Regions from separate parts of the Homo sapiens genome. Here regions 1 and 3 are each linked to region 2. The links are contacts of gene promoters, found by promoter capture Hi-C in blood cells and fetal thymus (Javierre and others, 2016). All regions are on one chromosome and are shown on one strand. The core of a region is centred on a gene start or on the middle of the fragment in contact, and the rest is flanking DNA. Distances in the headings are between cores, read along the strand shown.

Region 1 (4,521 bases), core at 1,269-3,768, 56 kb after region 2:
GAAAGTGCTTGGCACAATGCTAGGCACACAGCATTCAAGAAGGGGTTTTGTTTTGTTTTGTTTTGTTTTGTTTTGTTTTTGAGACAGCATCTCACTCTGTTGCCCGGGCTGGAGTGAGGTGGCATGATCACGGCTCACTGCAGCCTCGACCTCCTGGGCTCAAGCGATCCTCCCACCCCGGCCTCTCAAAGTGTTAGGATTACAGGTGTGAGCCACCACACCTGGCCTCAAGGAGTTTTGAGCCAGACAAATCAAGTTCCATTTATCAGCTGTGTGACTCTGGGTAATTCATGTGGTCTCTCTGAGCCTCACTTTCCTGTAAAATGGGGGTAATGATGACCTGTGTTGTGGTGCTGTGCTGAACATTAAGTGAGGTAATGGATGGAAAGGAAACATTCACTAATACTCAGCTTCTTGCCACACTTGTCCCTGGGAGGGCTGGTGATGTGTGCTGAAGTCCCAGGAATGCTAGGAATTACCCCTTTCAGGCACCTTGGCTGGACAAACACTAGGTCCTCATTTGGCCATCTGACTTCATCTGTGCAAAGTAGGGCAAAGTACAGGAAGAGCCACGTCGGGGCTTCCCCAGCTGCTTGTGGGCTTTTCAAGCTCCACCCAGGGGACTTTTTTTTCCCCAAGCTGGACAAATGTCCGGAGCAGGGAATGGGTGAGGCCTGTCCCACAGGGCTCATTGTTGGCGTCTAGGCTGCTGATAAGGTGGAAACAGGACATAAACAGAAATGGTGGCCTTCTCCCTTCCCAATTTTGGTCTCAGGGACCTAGGGGTACAAGGCTTCCTCCAGGCCAGGAGGGTGTCACATGAAAGGTGTCGAGGGGGGACACCTGATCATCCACCCAAACCCAAGAGACAGAGCTGTGTGGGAACCTGGTGCTGAGCCCCATCAAGGGAGCACTTTCTCCCAGGCCGGCCAGGAGGGCAGCAGGCAGGGCGGGGCTGGTGTGGGCTCCAGCTCTGGCGCTACCTCTGTTCCCTTCTCTCTAAAATGATGTGCACTCAGAAAGGTTGGTGATGCAAGAAATGAAGGGAGGGTCCCAGAGGTGGAGAGTGCAGGGCTTCTGCCCCAAAGAGGACCTTGGGCAAGTCACTCAGCCCACCTGAGCCTTACCTCCCTGGTCTGCAAAATGGGGTGAAAGTGGGAAGCTAGCAGCCCCTGCTTCAAAGCCCTTGCCTTCAAGGGAAACCAAGCATCTAGTAACCTGGCTCCCCTATGGCCTTCGTGACCTCCTATTGCATCCCTACATCCTCTCTCTCCACCCTGACACCCCACACACACACCAGCCAGCCAGCAGGGCTTGTGTGTTTTACCCCAAAACACATCCTGAATCTTGAATTCTACCACCTTTTGCAATCTCCACTTCCCTGGTCCAGCCATCATCATCTCTTACCCTCCCTGCCCTGGCCTTCCCCCTGGACTTCCAATTCTTCCCTTGGCCTGCCGTCCATCCTCCACACAGCAGCCAAAGGGATAGTTTTTGAAGGGCCCTCAGGACCATGCCACTCCCCTGCTTAAAACACTCCAGGCTGGGCACAGTGGCTCACACCTATCATCTCAGCATTTTGGGAGACCAAGGCCGGAGGATCTCTTGAGCTCAGGAGTTCGAGAACAGCCTGGGCAAAGTGTCAAGATCCTGTCTCTACAAAAAGTATAAAAATTAGCCAAGTGTGGTGGTGCACACCTGTAGTCCCAAATACTTGGGAGGCTGAGGCAGGGATTGCTTGAGACCAGGAGATTGTCTGCAGTAAGCCAAGATTGTGCCACTGGACTCCAACCTGGGCCACAGGGCTGGACCCTGTGTCAAAACAACAACAACAACAAACAAAAACACAGCAGTTACTCCATCACAGAAGAAAATCCAAACTCCTTTCCCTGGCACTCCAGCCCTGTGTGATATGGCCTGAACCTTCCCATCACCTTACCCCTGCCACACTGGCCTTGCTGTCCCTCCAACAGACTATATTTCTCTCTGCCTCAGAGCCTTTGCACTGGCTATGTCTTTTATCTGAAATGCTGCCACCTGCAGCTTTGATCTTGCTTGTGTTTCTCCTTTTGAACTCAGTGTCAGCTCCTCACAGAGGCCCTCCCTAACCACCCTGCCTAGGAGAGCCCCAATCACTCTTGATCACTGTTAAAAGGGTATTTTTTTTTTTTTGAGATGGAGTCTCACTCTGTTACCCAGGCTGGAGTGCAATGGTGTGATCTCAGCTCACTGCAACCTCTGCCTCTCGGGTTCAAGCAATTCTCCTTCCTCAGCCTCCTTAGTAGCTGGGATTACAGGCAAGTGCCATGACGCCTGGCTAATTTTTGTATTTTTAGTAGAGACGGGGTTTCACCATGTTGTCGAGGCTGGTCTTGAACTTCTGACCTTGTGATCTGCCCACCTCAGCCTCCCAAAGTGCTGGGATTACAGGCATGAGTCACCTCGCCTGGCCAAAAGGATAATTTTTAAGATAAAATCATAATTCTCATATAAATATAAAATGAACACGTCAAAGATTTTATTTTAGTCATTAATTAATGGGAGGACCTGTTCAATGTTATAGCCAATTCAAAAGAGAATTCAAAGACACACATATATTGGCAATCAGGAATGCTGAAATGAATTTATAAGCAGATTGCAAAATTGGTCAATATCCACAGGGCAATGATCAATTGCATTCTACCCTAACAAAATTCACCTGTATTTCTGTGGACAAGAATTATTTGGACATAAAAGTAATGAAAGGTGCAAGCCCTTATAGAATCAGATCCAGCTATCTTTTTTGCCTGTTTTAAAGTCTTTCATGAGTTTCTTGATGCATCCTCTACCCAGCATTTAACAACACCTGGATGTATTTGTCCACCTGTTTCTTATCCTTCTCCCTTCGCTCCATGCCTGAATGTATCTTGAGAGTGGAAATTCTGTTTTGTTCACAGCATCTAGAAGAGTGGCACATAGCAAGTGCTTAATAAATGTTTGTTGACTTTCTTTCCAGCTTCCAGGGCAATTTGTATTTTAGAAGAGGACACAAAAGAGTTTAGTGCTAAACCTAAAGGAAAGAATTCTGGCAGTCAATGAGGAGAGGACATTTGGGACAGGGAAAGAGGAGGATTTCATTGTCTTTCAGATAACCAGGACCTCTGCCCACCCCCATGGGGCTGCATCCCAAGCTCCAAGCATCTCAAGGGAATCTAATCCAAGGGTGGTAAGTGCTGCTGTTCTCTGGCCGAGGCCGCTCTGTGATACCATCTCAGACAAGTCCGAGGGCACTAAGAGGTTAATGTGACCCCACTGCTCACACCTTCTAGGCCTGACCCCTGGACTCCAAAGTTGGCTCAGAGATGTTCGAGGGTCTTGGACCCTCTCTTCTAGTGCCTGTGTACAGAGAGGGGCAGCAGCTGCCATTGTAGGAATATGAGTCATTAATGAGGGAATTCATTAATTAATGTGTAATTGTTACACACCAGGTCAGCGGCCCAGCCCCCTGAGATCCTAGAAATCCTTCTGGAGAAGGGCACCCTCTCGGTACCGAGGTCTTCTGGTCCCTGGAAACAGCCTGTGCGCGGCGTGCGTAAGCCTAGAGGGGGTGGAAGGGAAGAGAGGAAGATGCCGCGGGGGCCAGGAAAAGAGAGATGAGTCACGAAATGAGGGGATGCAGGAAGGAGGAAGCGAGGGAAGAATGAATCCATGGGATCTTCCCTGCGTACCTACTGTGTGCCGGGTACGGTTTGGGCACTGGGGACATAGGAATAGGGCGGGTCTGGCTGTGCAGCTGCAGGCCTCGTTCTATCCCGGAGCCTGAGTAAATGAATTATAACACATATACAAATGTGAAGCTGCAGCTGGGGCGAGTATTCGGAAGGAGAGCGCGGTAAGAGTGCCAGGCGGCCTTGCAATACCTGGGCTTTACCTAGATTGGGCGCCAGCCCACGGAAATGTCTGCGAATCAGTGCAGGTATACGGACTTGATTGCATTGTGCACAAGGGAAATGCAAGGTTGCTTGCAGATTTCAGGAATCAAAGCTGACATGATAGTACATGTATGAATGCAGAATGAATACAGGCTGGAGGCACGAATGCATGTGTATTGAAGTAACAGTCTTCGGTCTCGGCCTTCTCTAGTAGGCCTTGCGCACCCTCTGGCGTCGCCTAGGTGCATCGCGCTGACCTTCCTTGTCCCATCTCTCCACGCCCATTGGAGCAAGTGAGTGTATCTCGCTCCACCCAACGCCGGGCGGACAACTAGGAGTGGGTCTTCGCTGCCCACTACGCATGCGCATATTGCAGAACTTGTGAAGAGGCTTTATGCGCCACACACTGCAAGCAGTCAGGATGGCCGAGCGGTCTAAGGCGCTGCGTTCAGGTCGCAGTCTCCCCTGGAGGCGTGGGTTCGAATCCCACTTCTGACAGAGCTCAATTACTTTTCCTCATCAACACCGCAGATCAGTGAGGTTATGATGTCTTGTGTGTATGTGTTCTGTGTATATGTTCTTATAATCTTTTTTTATTCTTTTACAGATC
Region 2 (4,779 bases), core at 2,043-4,542:
CCTACTGCATAGGATTGTTTCAAGGATTAAATGAGTTCATATTTATAAAGTGCTTACGGCAGAGCCTAGCACTTAGCAAGCACTCTCTATGTGTTTGATAAATACAAATAAGTCAAATAAGTTTAGGTTATTACTTCATTATACTGTTGGGGAAACTGAGGCTCAGAGTTAAAGAGACAAGAACTCTGGGAGGGCTTCCTGCTTCAGCCTTTTTTATTATTCACCTGCAGATCCCTCTAAGAGATGGTGTCAGCAATAAGGAGGAGGAAGATGAGAAGATAATAGAGGCCCAAAGTGGGTCATGAGTCCCCAAACCCAGCCTCCCCAGGTGTGAGATTTGGTAGGCAGCAGGCTCTGAGCAGTTGGAGAAGCAGCCAGAGAGGCTACCGCAGAGAGGGCAGGACTTGTCACCCAGCCAGGTGCAGGTGCAGGCCCCAGGCCAGGGAAAAGGAGGCAAAGAAGCCAGAGAAAGAAGCAAAGGAGAACAAGAAACTCAGGAGAAAGCCCTGAACGAGGAACCAGGAGTGAGTTCTGGCTCCAACCTGGGCAGCCTTGAGCAGGTCACTGTCCCTTGCTAAGCCTGTTTCTCCATCTCTACCATGGGAATCGTTGAACTTCCTCGTAGGATTGTTGTGAGAATTAAACCAGTTAACACAGGTAATGATCAGAACAGTGCCTGGCACTCGGGAGGCACCTTGGAAATTTTAGCTCTTAATGTTATTCTTCTGGTCAAAATGGGCTGCCTTGGACTTCTGGGAGCCTGGAGAGGATCCAAGACACTTCTGGTGTGAGCATTTTTTTTTTTTTTTTTTTTTTGAGACAGAGTCTCCCTCTGTTGCCCAGGCTGGAGTGAGGTGGAGCGATCTCGGCTCACTGCAACCTCCACCTTCCAGGTTCAAATGATTCTCCTGCCTCAGCCTCCCAAGTAGCTGGGACCACAGGCACGCACCATCACACTCAGCTAATTTTGTATTTTTAGTAGAGATGGGGTTTCACCATGTTGACCAGGCTGATCTTGAACTCCTGACCTCAAGTGATCTGCCTGCCTCGGCCTCCCAAAGTGCTGGGATTACAGGCATGAGCCACCACGCCTGGTTCACCATCCATTTTTGCCCAGAACCTGGGAGCATCTTTGCTGACTCAGTGGCACTAGGTATACTCCTATACCTGCTATACCCAAATACCCTAGATGCCACAGCTACTGACTACCTACTGCCATACCCACACTGTGGTGGCACCCTGTTCACTCAGCTCTGCATCCTCAGAACCTGACATGTTGCCTGGCACCTAGTAAGCGCCTGAGGATATTGGCTAAACGATCACATTATTTTTGTTTGTAGTCCACCCAAGCCTGAACTGAGCCATCTCTTCCAGCCAAGCCATCCTGGCAGGCATCTGGTAGCCCTGCCACATTCCTCTCATCCCTGGGTGTGTCCCACCCACCAGCACCTGGGCCATCCCAGGCTGTACCCGTCAGGCCCACCAAGGCCCTGTGGCCCCAGCTCCCTACTCACACCACGCCAGGCCTCGGGCAGGAGTCTGAGGTCCAGTAGAAGTGTTTCACCACGCGCAGGGGCAGACGGTAACGGACGTAATCACGGCAGCAGACGCTGTCTTCCATGTTGGCGCCGTAGGGGCCTAGGGGAGGGGTCCCCAGTGAATTCACAAGCTGGAGCCCAGAGAGGTCACCCTCGGCCCCAGCCCCTGATCTCGGCCTCTCCAGGCTCCAGGAAAGAGATGCAGTTTTTCTGTTCTCATGTGGAAGGATGGTGACCAGAGGATTCTGAGCCCTCCAAGACCCTACCCTTGGAGCTTCTGAGAAGCCACTTAGGGTCCAATGTCTACACTCTGGGACAGTCAGCTCTAGGAGCGGGGATTCAGAACAACTAAGCATCAGCTGTAGCCTGAGGCCCAATTTCCTCCTCTGACCAAAGGGGTAATAACAGTACCAGCTTCAGAGGGTCTTTAATGCATGAAAAGCACTCAGAAAGCCCAGCAGCTGGGAGCAATTCTTGTTTATAGCTGCCTGACCCCACTCCAGTGCTCACTCCTCCACCCAACACAGCAAAAGTATAGAGTGGGGTGGAGAAGAGGAGTCAGGAATCCATGCTGAGGACAGGTTCTGGACAAAAATGGATAGTGAGCCCAGAGCAGTGGCTCACGCCTGTAATCCTAACACTTAGGGAGGCCAAGATGGGAGTTTCACTTGAGGTCAGGAGTTCGAGACAAGACCGGTCAGCATGGTGAAACCCCATCTTTACTAAAAATACAAAAATTAGCCGGGCATGGTGGCAGGTGCCTGTAATCCCAGCTACTCAGGAGGCTGAGGCAGGAGAATCACTTTAACTCCAGAGGTGGAGGTTGCAGTGAGCTGAGATTGCGCCACTGCACTCCAGCCTGGGCAACAGAGACTCCATCTCAAAAAATAAATAAATAAAATGAAATAAAAAATAAATTTAGGCTAGACGCAGTGGCTCATGCCTGTAATCCCAGCACTTTGGGAGGCTGAGGTGGGAGGATCATCTGAGGTCAGGAGTTTGAGACCAGCCTGGCCAACATGGTGAAACCCTGTCTCCACTAAAAATACAAAAATTAGCCAGGTGTGGTGGTGCATGCCTGTAATCCCAGCTACTCAGGAGGCTGAGGCAGGAGAATCGCTTGAACCTGGGAGGTAGAGGTTGCAGTGGGCCAAGATTGCCCCACTGCACTCCATCCTGGGCAACAAGAGTGAAACTGTGTCTCAAAAAATAAAATAAAATAAAATAAAAAATAATAATAATAACATTTTAAAAAATGGATGGTGGGAGGGCAGCACCAGCTTTCCAAGGGAGAACCCCTTGCCCCAGCCCTGCCTTCCCCCACTCAGACCTGACCCTTAGAAGCTCCTCACCCACACCCCTAGGGCCCTATGCTTGAGTTTTCTGGGGCAGGAGATCCCGAGGCTATGCCCACCACAACCCCCAACCCAGGTGAGACAGATCCTAGACTCCAAGTCTTCAAGACTGCCCATTCAACAGACTTGTAAACTGAGGCCCAGAGAAGCACTGCAACTAGCCGAAGGCCGCAAGAGCCAACAGCAGACTGAGGTCTTCTGCTCTTGGTCCAGTGCTTGTCCAAGACATGAGGAAGACACCCCACCGTCTGCCCTGGCCTCTGTAGGGGGTCTTCCTGCTCCCCAGCCTCACCTGCCTCAGTTGCTTGAAGCGCCACAGCAAGGAGGACGAGGACAACCAGGAGTGCAGTCTGTAGGCGATCCATGCTCTGTCCTGTATGTCTCAGCCCAGGTGTCTGCAAAGGGACATAGGAAGACCTGCTATTTAAGGTGCTGGCTCCACCCACAAGCCTCACTTACTTACCTCTTAGTCACCGGGGTGCCCAGAGTCACTTGACATTCACATCTCAAAAGAAGAACTACCTCCCACTTCCTCCAAAGTGGAGAAATTCTCTTTGGCGGGGAACCACTCAGAGGGGACCCCCCCTCAACTCTGTCCTCGCCTCTGGTTTCAGACAGACTTGTAAAATCCCCCTCTTAGAGGCTTGTGCTCCCCAGGGTCTCTGCACTGTGTGGCCTTGGCCATGTCTGGGTGTCTCTGGGACTTGGTTTCCCCATCTGGAAATGGGGGAGATGGTTTCACAGCTCTGTTGACTTCACTGGTTGTAAATCAAGTGAGAACGTGGACCAACCCTCACCTAGAATTGAGGCCTGTCTTGTACCCTTAATGACGGCATTACTGGTCTCTCTTCAATGGGAGAGGCCTATGGACCCATTGACCCATCTGGGGCTTCTCGTGAAGTCCACATTTGGGCCAGGTCGTGGATTTCTCAACGGTTTATGGAAAGCATCTACCCACACTTCTGTCCTGCCTGATCTTCCTTCCCAGTGGCTGCCGGGCTCTCCCTCCCCCACTCCTGTCTCAGTCCCTCACCATGTCCATGTCCCGTTGATTCTGCTTCCTAAATCTCTCTCAGATCTGCTCCTTCTCTCCAACCCCACTGTTCCTGCCCAGTCCAGGCCACCTCCACCTCAGGCTGGGATGCTGGCCTCCTCAATGCCATCCCCACCCTGCAGCAGCCAGCGTGAGTGGTCCAGAGCTACACACTCTCTCTCCTGCTTCAGAACCCTGCCGTGGCTCCCCATTCACCTAAAGGCAGGTCCCGGGCTCCTGTCTGTGGCCTTCAAGGCCCCGTTTCCGGACAGGCCTTTCCCCACTGGTCTCCTTCCCCTGAGGGATCACACCACACTCCTCACACTTCCTCAAAAGGGACTGCGGCCTGTCCCTGGCCTTTAATGTCACTTTCCACATCTCTACCACATAAACTCCTACTTATGCGTCAAAGCTGTTTGAAATGTCATGTCCTTGGTAAGCACACCCTCTCAGGACTTCAAAGCCTTCTAGGGGACCTGGAATGTGGCCCTGAGCAGACTGGGTCAGGTTTTCTCTTTCTCAAGCCCCTCCCTAGAAGTCAGACTCCAAGCTCTAGGAGGCTGGGGTCTCCCTTCATTTTTCTTGGCATTCCCAGGGCCCTCTGAGGATCAGGCACATGTTGGGTGCTCAGAACACATGGGCTGGGTGCAGTGATTCATGACTGTAATCCCAGCACTTTGGAAGGCCCAGGCAGGTGGATCACCTGAGGTCAGGAGTTCAAGACCAGCCTGGCCAACATGGAGAAACCCCATCTCTACCAAAAATACAAAAATTGGCCGGGTGTGATGGCATGCGCCTGTAATCCCAGCTACTTGGGGGGCTGAGAGGCAGGAGAATCGCTTGAATCCGGTGA
Region 3 (4,508 bases), core at 206-2,705, 60 kb before region 2:
ACACTGAAAGAATTCATCACTTGCATCTCCCAGGAGAACAGGGCATGGCACACACGCAGGACCACACACGGGGCCACAGGGGGAGCACCAAGTTTGGTCAGGAGGCTGAAAGGAAGGATCAGAACAGCACAGGCCACAGCCTTTTGTGGGGTTTCCACCCGAAGTGCAAGGCAGGCCAGGGGAAGCAGCCCGGGTCTGGCTAGTTGGAATAATTCCAGGGGGCCTTGGGCTTAGGGGCCGTCCCTAGTTGTCTCTACCTGGCTCTGGGTGATTTAGGGCAGGGGAAATACTGGCTTGGTGTGAGAGTTAAATAGAGATGGTTGGGGGGCCTGTGATTGGGATTGGTTGGAGGGTTTGTAACTATTATTACTTTCAAACACTTGCAAAAACCAGCTTGCAGGGGAGGTATAAATGCTTTTGGCCCTGTGATTTGGCCCTGTGATAAATGGATGCCAAATAGACCAAATACAGTCTCTAAGAAAACACAGTGAAACACCCCAGCCCACAGCTCTTGGCACTGCCCAGGTTGCGTCTGGAGTTAGTGGCCCTGCTAGTCCCAGCAGGGTTTCTTCCTTCTTCCTCTTCATCCAGCAAACCCCAGACAGTGTAATTGGCGGTTTCTTTGCTTCTGTTCCCACAAGAGGAGAGCCGGCCAGCTACAGACACCCCTGCCCCAAGGCCTAGTGCAGCTACAACCAGATGTGGCTGATCCCAGCCCCTGGGGACAGCGATGGGGCCGGAGTCTGGCTGGTGGGGTCAGGGCCCCTGGCGCATCAGCCTCAGAACTTCCTCCTAAGAGCAGAGTGCCCTCTGGTGGGCCACTGGAAAACAACCCAATTCTAATTTCCACGTTTGGAGATGCAATATGCTTCAAGCCGGGTTATTAGGGCTCCCCAGGAAATTTCTCTTTCCCCACTAGTGCCCCTTGTGGAATTCACCTGAGCAGCACTGATGAAAATGTATAAATCAAATATACACTGTGCACAAAGCTTTTTTCCCTCCTCATAAATGAGTCTGGTACTGTTTCCTGACCCAAATACCTGCTCAGTGAGTTTATTGGGTAAATCACCCAAGCAGCTCCAATTACAAGGGGTAGAGTGTGGTCAGGATTAGACTAAGGTGAGCGTTGGGTGCAGGTGGAGGACACACAGCTGAGGTTGAGTAGGCTGGCTGTGGCAGAGGCAGCACTGAGTTGAGCGTTGAAGAGAAACTGGATTTCAGAATAGTGGCTCACGCCTGTAATCCCAGCACTTTGGGAGGCCGAGGTGGGCGGATCACTTGAGCTCGGGAGTTCGAGACCAGCCTGGCCAACATGGTAAAACCCCATCTCTTCTAAAAATACAAAAATCAGCCAGGTGTGGTGGTGCACACCTATAATCCCAGCTACTCAGGAAGCTGAGGCATGAGAATCGCTTGAACCCGGGAGACAGAGGTTGCAGTGAGCCAGATCGCACCACTGCACTCCAGCCTGGGTCACAGAGCCAGACTCCATCTGAAAAAAAAAAAAAAAAAAAAAAAAAAAAAAAGCAGGGGTGGGGTGGGGGAGGAGGGGAGGCACCTACCAGGTGAAAGAAACAACATAAGTCTGGCGCTTCTCCTCACTTTTCACCCCGAACCTGCCCATTCCTCTTTTTCCCTCCCAGCAGTCTTTCCAATCACAGCAGTCTCCAGGTCACACCTCCTTAAAATGCCCTAAGGTCACATGGCAGTTGTCCTATCTCTTGCATCTCACCATCCCCCAGCTTGCACCGGATGCTGCTCGTGAATACTTGGATTCTGAATCCTGCGTTTTGTTGCCAGTCCTGGATCCACCTCTTCCCTGCCTTTATGCAATGCCCCACCCTATCTCACTTTCAGGGACCCTCTGGCAACTCCCCACCTCCTCACAGGCCTCCACGGCAGCTCTACTTACCTAAGCTTACAATATGGGCTTCTGAGTAGGATTTCAGTAGGGAAAAAACAAAAAAGGTCTTGCTTTTTTAAACGAAGTTTGCTGGAGGCCAGGCGCGGTGGCTCATGCCTGTAATCTCAGCACTTTGGGAGGCCAAGGCGAGTGGATCACATAAGGCCAAGAGTTCAAGACCAGCCTGACCGACATGGTGAAACCCCGTCTCTACTAAAAATACAAAAAAATTAGCCGGGTGTGGTGGCGGGCGCCTGTAATCCCAGCTACTTAGGAGGCTGAAGCAGGAGAATCGCTTGAACCTGGGAGGCGGAGGTTGCAGTGAGCTGAGATGGAGCCATTGCACTCTGAGAGTCCTTCCAGCTCTCGCCTGCAGGGTGCAGGGGTCCAGACCCCGGCTGTCTCTGGCCTTTGCTGTCTTAGGAGCTTCTCCTTGCCTCCCTCCCTTTTTAGATCATCCTTCCTCCTCCCGGTGGATTCAGAGGACAATTTTCCATGAAGAACTCAGACTGGGCCATCCCCAGGACTCTGGGTCTTAGGCAGTTGTTCAAGTGATCCTCCTCGGCATCAGGACAGGAGATGAGCCCACTTGCGGCTGAAGAGACCCTAGAGTCACAGGCAAGCCAGTTCACTGGTTTTATCAACCTCGTTATCGCTGTGCCCGTACTGGAAAGTAAACTTGGGTTCTATCATCTGCCCTGCAATGAGCTGACTGGCCACAAGGGAGCAGCAGGAGGCAACAGCCGGGCCTGGAAATTGCCCTTCTAACCGCAGCCCCACCAAACAATGCCCGCCACAAGGTCCTCGGAAGAGAAGGACCCGCGCCCCTGCCGCCAAACTGTGTTCAGAGAGAAGCCACGGCCCCATCGCTGGTTGGGAGAGTGAGAGAGAACTAGAAGGCTTAGGCCCCGACTCCTCTGTGCTCAGCCCTTAGCTGGGCATGGGCAGAGGGGTCTGGGGGTGGGGTGTCCTGAGCCTCTAGTCCCCATCTTTTTTAGCACAGGGGTGTGGGGTCCCCGGAGTGGCTCACGGAGCTCTCAACCTAATGGAGGAGCTGGGACTGCCACACACGCGCACGCACACACACACACACACACACACACACACACACACAATGAGAGAACCACGCGGAGCAGGGGTCGGCTTCAGGGCAGTCCCTAAGAGCTGGGGGAGCGAGTCGGTGGGCGGTTGTGCTGGGCCGGCTTCCGGCAGGCTGGGCGCAGCCAGGGCCGGGTGGGGATCACACTTCAGTCAGGAGGAACCACAGGGCCGCGTGGCGCCCGCCTGCCTGAGCCTGGAGTGGGCTAGGAAGTCAGCCGCAGGCAGAGGGCCCAGGACCCACAGAGCCCCCTCGCCCTGGAGCTGGGGTCTGGAGTTTGAGCGGGGAGAGGGAGCCAGGGCCAGGAGGAGCCGGGCCAGCTGGACTGCAGTGAGTGCAGGGGAAGGCAAGGACAGGGCTACAAGCTTCCCCCACCCTTGGCCAGGGGGCTCCCCAGCACTGGGCAGAGCTGTGGCCTGCGGCAGGGTCCTGGCCAGTCTGTGAAATTGACTCCAGCACCTCGGGGAAGTTTGTCCTCAGCTCCACGTGGGGCAAGAACAGGAGCTGGGCTGGGGGGAAACCGGGAGACCTTGGGGTGGGTAGGGAGAGAATCCAGCGGCCGCCTCCCAGGACCCCGCCAACCCCGCCCCTGCCCGGGCCTCTCACCAGGGCCTCCCCTCACTGGTGCGTGGTCTGCGGAAGCCACGTGCCCTTCTCAGCCTCAGTTTCCCTTTCCGACCTGCACAGGGCAGGACCAGAGGTTCTCTGAGAACCCTCCCAGAGTGACAGGCCGGAGTGGAAGCGCATCTTGCGCTGTGGGGACAGACACGCTGACACAGACTGAGGATAAAGACTTTAATCTGGGCCCTTTGTGCCCATGGCTCCAGTTCAGACAAGGGGATGGGATCTCCCTCACTGTGGCTCTTCTTCGTCCCTGGAAGGCCTCCCCTGGACCCAGGCGCTCAGGGTGGGGGCGGTGAACACCAACGGTGGAGGTCCCAGGTAGTCCCGGGAGACAGTCAGGAGTCTGGGGTGAGGAGGCTTCAAGACCTCTCAAGGCTTTGCAGGTATTTAACTGCATTCTTCACTCTCTTGTTGTTGGGGTCCGAACAGATGGCCCTGCCCTGCACAGTTACAAAACTACACAGAAGGAGGACGTTACCAGGAGTGGCAGGGGGGGAAGGGCCCCCAGAGTCCCTGGGACGGCCCGCCCTGTGCTGACCAGGATTCCAAGGCTCCAAGAGGGGCAGGAAGTTGCTGCTGTCACACAGGGCATTGGTGGCAGATCTGGGACTTCAGGCTCTGTCCCGAGTAATCTCGACCCTCCCAGGGAGCCAGGGCTGCAGGAACTTGTGCCCACCCCTCAGCCTGCCCATGCCCCCAGACAGTCTAGAGCCTGGGACGTGGAGACTGCGGGCAGGGCTCAGGCCCAGGCTGGGGGAGGTGACCACATTGCCCCTGACCAGCTGTGTGACCTGGGGGTGTTCATTGCTCCCGGGGCCTCAATTTCACCACAAATCAAGGAATAGGTTGGACCTCATGGCCTGCGGCCCTTTTGGGTCCCAC

Evidence for each region. Contacts are between HindIII fragments. The CHiCAGO score rates a contact against its expected background, and 5 or more counts as called.
Region 1: a contact is called between a fragment that was not itself captured here and the fragment with the promoter of CCL22 in region 2, in 1 of 17 cell types (M2 macrophages). The highest score is 5.1, in M2 macrophages.
Region 3: a fragment that was not itself captured here is called in contact with the fragment with the promoter of CCL22 in region 2 in 1 of 17 cell types (endothelial precursors); the score reaches 6.0 in endothelial precursors.

The regions. Positions count from the first base shown.
Region 1 is chr16:57,300,368-57,304,888 of GRCh38, reverse strand. It overlaps TRL-CAG2-2 (tRNA-Leu (anticodon CAG) 2-2), which reads left to right and starts at 4,327; the gene lies at 4,327-4,409. RefSeq lists an enhancer at 682-731 and a silencer at 4,295-4,464. The HindIII fragment of the contact is 5,981 bases long and covers 1-4,521 here.
Region 2 is chr16:57,357,296-57,362,074 of GRCh38, reverse strand. CCL22 (C-C motif chemokine ligand 22) reads right to left here and starts at 3,292. Exons shown (of 3, transcript NM_002990.5): 1 at 3,186-3,292; 2 at 1,515-1,638. The coding sequence starts at 3,258. The HindIII fragment of the contact is 35,589 bases long and covers 1-4,779 here.
Region 3 is chr16:57,415,339-57,419,846 of GRCh38, reverse strand. CCL17 (C-C motif chemokine ligand 17) reads right to left here. Exons shown (of 4, transcript NM_002987.3): 4 at 3,784-4,082. The coding sequence ends at 3,986. Among named protein-coding and RNA genes, the nearest start is that of CCL17, 13 kb to the right of the region's middle. RefSeq lists enhancers at 1,668-2,182, 2,699-3,214, 3,215-3,730. The HindIII fragment of the contact is 928 bases long and covers 992-1,919 here.